2 separate regions of the Homo sapiens genome follow, and region 1 is linked to region 2. Evidence: promoter capture Hi-C in human tissues and cell types (Jung and others, 2019). All regions are on one chromosome and are shown on one strand. The core of a region is centred on a gene start or on the middle of the fragment in contact, and the rest is flanking DNA. Distances in the headings are between cores, read along the strand shown. Region 1 has its middle 80 kb from the start of TACC1. Region 2 holds the start of ASH2L (ASH2 like, histone lysine methyltransferase complex subunit).

Region 1 (2,700 bases), core at 75-2,574, 600 kb before region 2:
ATTCTTCTTGGCCTCTCTGTGCAGAGCGCCTTCCTTCTGGGTATGGGGCAAGACACTGCTGGAATGGGAGTCTGATGACCTACAGCCAAACCAGGTAGGTCAGATTCTTTCTTTCTTTCTTTTTTTTTTTTTTTTTGAGATGGAGTTTTGCTCTTGTTGCTTAGGCTGGAGTGCAATGGCGTGGTCTTGGCTCACTGCAACCTCTACCTCCTCGGTTCAAGCGATCCTCCTGCCTCAGCCTCCCAAGTAGCTGGGATTACAGGCACCTGCCACCATGCCCAGCTAATTTTTATATTTTTAGTAGAGACAGGGTTTCACCATGTTGGCCAGGCTAGTCTTGAACTTCTGAGCTCAAGTGATCTGCCCACCTTGGCCTCCCAAAGTGCTGGGATTATGGGCATGAGCCACCGCTCCTGGCCAGATTATTCCTTTATGGCCAATTTTTACACAGAAGGCGGAGGGAAAGTTAGAGAGTAGTATTTTAGGTTTTATGGCTGGTTTGAGGGAAAGGGGTTCTGGTTTCTAAGACCTGCCAGGGTTTGGTCAAATGTAGGATGACATAATATATCCCTCATTGCATTATCATACAGAATATTTCTGCTGCCCTAAAAATCCTCTGTGTTCTGCCTATTCATTCCTCTCTCCCTTGTCTTTTTTTTTTTCGCTTAGCAATATAGGATAAACATTTTCTCATACCATCAAATATCCTTTTGAAGCCCAATTGTGAAAGCCTGCACCATTCCCTTGCAGTGGACACACCATAATGTATTAACTAAGGCCCTCAGTCCTCTTCATTTAAGTTGTTCCTATTTGAGATTCAGACACATTAGTCTTTGTTTTCATGAATCTCTGATGATTTCCCTAGGATAGATTTCTCTAAGTGGAAAGTCTATTCTAAAAGTGTTGATTAGCAAAAACTGCTTTCAAATGAAGTACTTTAGGAAAATATTGAGGTATGGAGAGGTAGCATCTTTGAGAGAGATGGAGACAGCATGAAGTGGGGCAGTTTTGGAGTCTGGATGTGTAGATTGGAAGAGGTGGGGGAGTAGAACGTGCCTCAAGGTATTGGGCTTGGGCTTTCCTTAGAGACAATGGGACATAGGCATATTTGGAAGAAGAACTAATTTGAGGGAAGAAGATAAATTTATTCAGGGACATGAAGGATTTGGGTTATTGGGGCTCAGAAAACGATACTTCAAAATGAAGGCCTCAGAAACAAAAGTTTTTCTCTGATCTTCTCTTGTCCTCCTGTCTCTCAGTCCCATCCTCCCGAGACTAGCCAGAGACACTAGAATCTAAGAACAACCCAAGGCAGGTCTTAGAAACCAGAACCCCTTCCCCCCAAAGCAAGCCATAAAAACTAAAAATATTACTCTCTAACTTTCCCCTTGCCTTCTGTTTAAAAATTTGCCATAAGGAAATTTTCCGACCTCCCTGATTGGACTGTAGGTCATAAGACCCCCTTTCCAGAAAGGGTCCTGCCCCAAACCCAGAAGGAAGGAGTGCTGCTCAGAGAGGCAAAGAAGACTCTAGACAGACAGTCCTTGCTTGGTGTTCCCACTCTGTCTATCAGCATTAGATGGTTCCCTTTTTGTCCAATCATATTATTGGACAATATTTAATATATTAATCATATATTAAATAAATGTGTATGCCTTTTCTCCAATTAATCTGCCTTCTGCAAGTTGATTTTTCAGCAAAACTTTTGAGGGCCAAGGGGAACCAGGGCGCACCTAGGGGCACAGGGGCAGAGTCTGGGCTGGAGAAGTGTATGAGTCCATTTTCACACTGCTATAAAGAACTTCCCAAGACTGGATAATTTATAAAGGAAAGAGGTTTATTTGACTCACAGTGCAGCATGGCTGGGGAGGCCTCAGGAAATTTACAATCATAGTGGAAGGTGAAGCAGGCATGTCTTACATGGCGGCAGGTGACAGAGAGCAAATGTGTGCATAGGAGGAATTGTCAAACACTTGTAAAACCATCAAATCTCATGAGAACTCACTCACTATCATGAGAACAGAATGGGGAAAGCTGCCCCCATGATCCAATCACTTCCCACCAGGTCCTGCTCTTGACACATGGGGATTATGGGAATTACAATTCAAGATGAGATTTGGGTAGGGACACAGAGCCAAACCATATAAAGAGGTAAATTTGGGAGTCATAGCAGAGATCTTCTAGTTAAAACCATGAGAGGAGCTGTCTAGGGGAGAGAGAGCCCCAGGGTGATCAGAGCCCTGCAGAAGAGCCATGCTCAGAGGCACATTTGGAAGACACAGCAAATAGGTAAACAGGGGAGAAAAAGGTGGGAAAGTGCCTTGGGAAGGCTGGGTCATAAACAATGTCAAGTACTGCCCTGAGGTCAGCAAGGCTGAGGACTAGGGGGGAAAACCATTGTGTTTGGCCAGAAGAAAGTCCTGGCAACCTCCAGCAAATGCAGTTGCAATAGAATTGTGGGGGTGGAAGTCCGCGGTTTAGGGAATAGTAGATGGAGGCATTGAGTGTCAGCCACAATGTGGAGGATTTTGGCAGCCAAAGGAAGCGGGAAGTCTGGAAATTAGCTAAAAAAGAGGAGAGTGGAGCATTGTATTTTGTGAGTGTGTGTCTTGTTCCTATTCCAAGCCAGCAGCTTCAGTCGGCTTTTCCACATCCCCTACCACAGTTTCCTCAGCTTATTTTTCAATCCTAAATATTTTT
Region 2 (2,723 bases), core at 214-2,713:
AGTTGACTTGAATGTATTTTACTTTATTTTATTTTTTTAAGAGACGGGGGTCTCCCTATGTTGCCCAGGCTGGTCTCAAGTGATCCTGAGGTCTCAGCCTCCCAAAGTGCTGGGATTACAGGCATGAGCCACCGTGCCTGGCCTGAATGTATTTTTGATTCGCTTAAAAATGTAAAAACAAGGCCGGGCGCGGTGGCTCACGCCTGTAATCCCAACACTCTGGGAGGCTGAGGCGGGAGAATCAACTGAGGTTAGGAGTTCGAGACCAGCCTGGCCAACATGGTGAAACCCCGTCTCTACTAAAAAGACAAAAAAAAGAAGCCAGGTGTGTTGGCAGATGCCTGTAATCCCAGATACTCGGGAGGCTGAGGCAGGAGAATCGCTGGAACCCGGGGGGAGGAGGTTGCAGTGAGCCGAGATCGCGCCACTGCATTCCAGCCTGGGCGACAGAGCAAGGCTCCGTCGCAACAAAAAAAAAAAAAAAAGAAGAAGAAGAAATAACTAAAACAAACCCTATTTTGTCTTGCAAACAACTAAAAATACTTACTAGTGTATCTTTTCCATTAGATGATTCTGTCTCCAAGCCACCGCTTACATCGACCAAGTTTGCCTCCCTATAAGATAATGAAAGCGCTCAAGTAAGAATTCTCAAGACAAACCTCAAAATGCCTATTCCCAAAAATGATGATCAAATTACAGCCGAACTTCATACTCCTGCAGCTTTTTCAGCTAAGCCTGATCTCAGACTGGATGCCCAAGGTACTGTCAGGATACTGAGAAGGTGGACATGTCAGACAGTCGCGGACCCACGGAGCACAGGGAAGCCTAACCGGCCTTTACAGTCAAATCTACCTGGGTTAGAGTTGGTCCTGGGAGAGGTTCAAAGAGAGGCAGCTCTCCCACCCTGTTTTCAGAGTGACCGTTACTTCTTCCAGTCTGGCACTGCAAAGTGGTTTCTTTTCTGGAATATGTGAAGGCCTCCCGTTAAAGTGTGAGCTACCAGCTTCCTGCCAGGGTGCAAGGATCAGAGATAACGACAGGAGCCTCAGCTCCCACCGCCCGTGAAAGGTGCGGAAGGGGCGTTATCCGAGATATGCTTGAGAGGGGACGGGCCAAGCGGCGCAGAGGCAGGGCGAGCCATTGGCGGCGGGGCCTGGGTTCGCAGGGGGCGGGCGGCAGGGCTCCAGGAGCCGCGGGATTCGCGAGGGGCGGGCCTCCCTCCCGCGTCTTCCTCGGGCGGCAGGACCTCTTACCCGCCTTCAGCCTCCCCGGAACTGGGCTCAACTGTCGGAGCAGCAGAGATCCCCTCTCCAGGAGGAGCGGCTGCTCCCGCTGCCACCGGCTTCATCTCCCCCTCTTCTGCCCCTGTTGCATTTGCGACCGCTCCTGGGCCAGGCCCGGCACCCGCTTCCTGGCCAGGTCCTGCTCCTGCCGCCGCCATCACGGCCACCCCTGGACTTCTCGCGAGAATACTCTCTTCTCTCGCGCGCGTTGCTGTGTGACGCTGTAGTCTTCAAACAGAAAAAGCCCGCGGTGCGTCCACCGCCTGCCTGAGGAAGCATAATTCCACGACCGCTTTAAGGCCAGGCGCGCGGGCAGAGGTGGGCCGGCCTCCCGCGCCGGCGGTGGCCGCGGGCCTGGCAGGCTGAAGGTGGAGGAAGCTAGATGGTTAGTGCGGCTCTCTGGAGGACTTCCTTTCGAGTCAGGGACTGACGCGGCGTATTTTCGTGGCTACGACTGGATATTCTGCGCAGAAGAGGGTCCTTGAGAGCGCTGGCCGTGCCGTGCCGCCAAACACTCCTCACCACCGAATGTGGGAAACGTCTTCCTTGGAGTCTAGCACTCCCTGCCCGCCCCGGATGGAATTTGGTTTTCTGCGCAGGGTCGCCCCTTGGAGCCCGTTTCCAAATGATTTTAAGAGGGAAGGGAATCTAGGGAGGCCGATTCCAGGGGCGAGGGTGGAAAACCCAGGCCGGGCAGCCGAGGAGCGGCGTGGGCACTAGAAGCGGCTCGCCGCTTCCTACTGTGAGAGGCGGAAAGCGAAGCCCCGGGGTGTGCCGGGGCACTCGGAATGTAGACAAGTTTGGTGCCCAGCGAAAGGAAGAGGTGTGGACTGAAAGTACGAACTTGGGAAGTCATCAACAGTAGCTGGTGGCTGGCATCAGTGGAGTGAGTTGAGTCTTTCAGAGCCATGGTCTCCAAACTCGAGAATGCAAACCTCTGAGAGTGTTGCGGCCAGGAACGTTTTCAGGACACCAGTGTTTATCCTATATCCTAAAATGTTGCCTAACGATAATACACTCTTCTCCCGCTTTACACAAGAACGGCGCACCCCTCGCCAATCCTCAGTCTAATCTTACTGTGATGTGTCCACCGATAGTGTAGGAATCTCTGGGCCACTGGACGCCATGGGAAATACGTAGATATTGATTTCCCAATTGGTTCTCAATTATTGGTTTTCAACAAAATTGAAGAAAGACCTAACTGAGTTGCCAGGTTACATTTTTAAAATTGATGATAAATACTTAAATCAGGGGTTGGTACTCCAAAGAGAAGCAGGATGCTTGATCTAAGTATCTCCTCCCAAATACGTAGTATTGTAGCAGTTTTAACATATGGTCGCAGAATTTTGTGTTTTCTTGTTGTTGTTTGTTTGAGACAGAGTCTCGCTCTGTCGCCCAGGCTGGAGCGCAGTGGCCCGATCACGGCTCACTGCAACCTCC

What was found. The method cuts DNA at HindIII sites, captures the fragments that hold promoters and counts their contacts. A contact is called where the count stands out against the background at its distance.
Region 1: a fragment that was not itself captured here is called in contact with the fragment with the promoter of ASH2L in region 2 in 1 of the 25 tissues and cell types used here (H1 embryonic stem cells).

The regions. Positions count from the first base shown.
Region 1 is chr8:38,705,692-38,708,391 of GRCh38, reverse strand. No RefSeq gene overlaps it. Among named protein-coding and RNA genes, the nearest start is that of TACC1, 80 kb to the left of the region's middle. The HindIII fragment of the contact is 5,844 bases long and covers 1-2,700 here.
Region 2 is chr8:38,104,269-38,106,991 of GRCh38, reverse strand. ASH2L (ASH2 like, histone lysine methyltransferase complex subunit) reads right to left here and starts at 1,463. Exons shown (of 16, transcript NM_004674.5): 1 at 1,254-1,463; 2 at 548-614. The coding sequence starts at 1,441. RefSeq lists silencers at 1,076-1,275, 1,606-1,695 and an enhancer at 1,366-1,495. The HindIII fragment of the contact is 26,659 bases long and covers 1-2,723 here.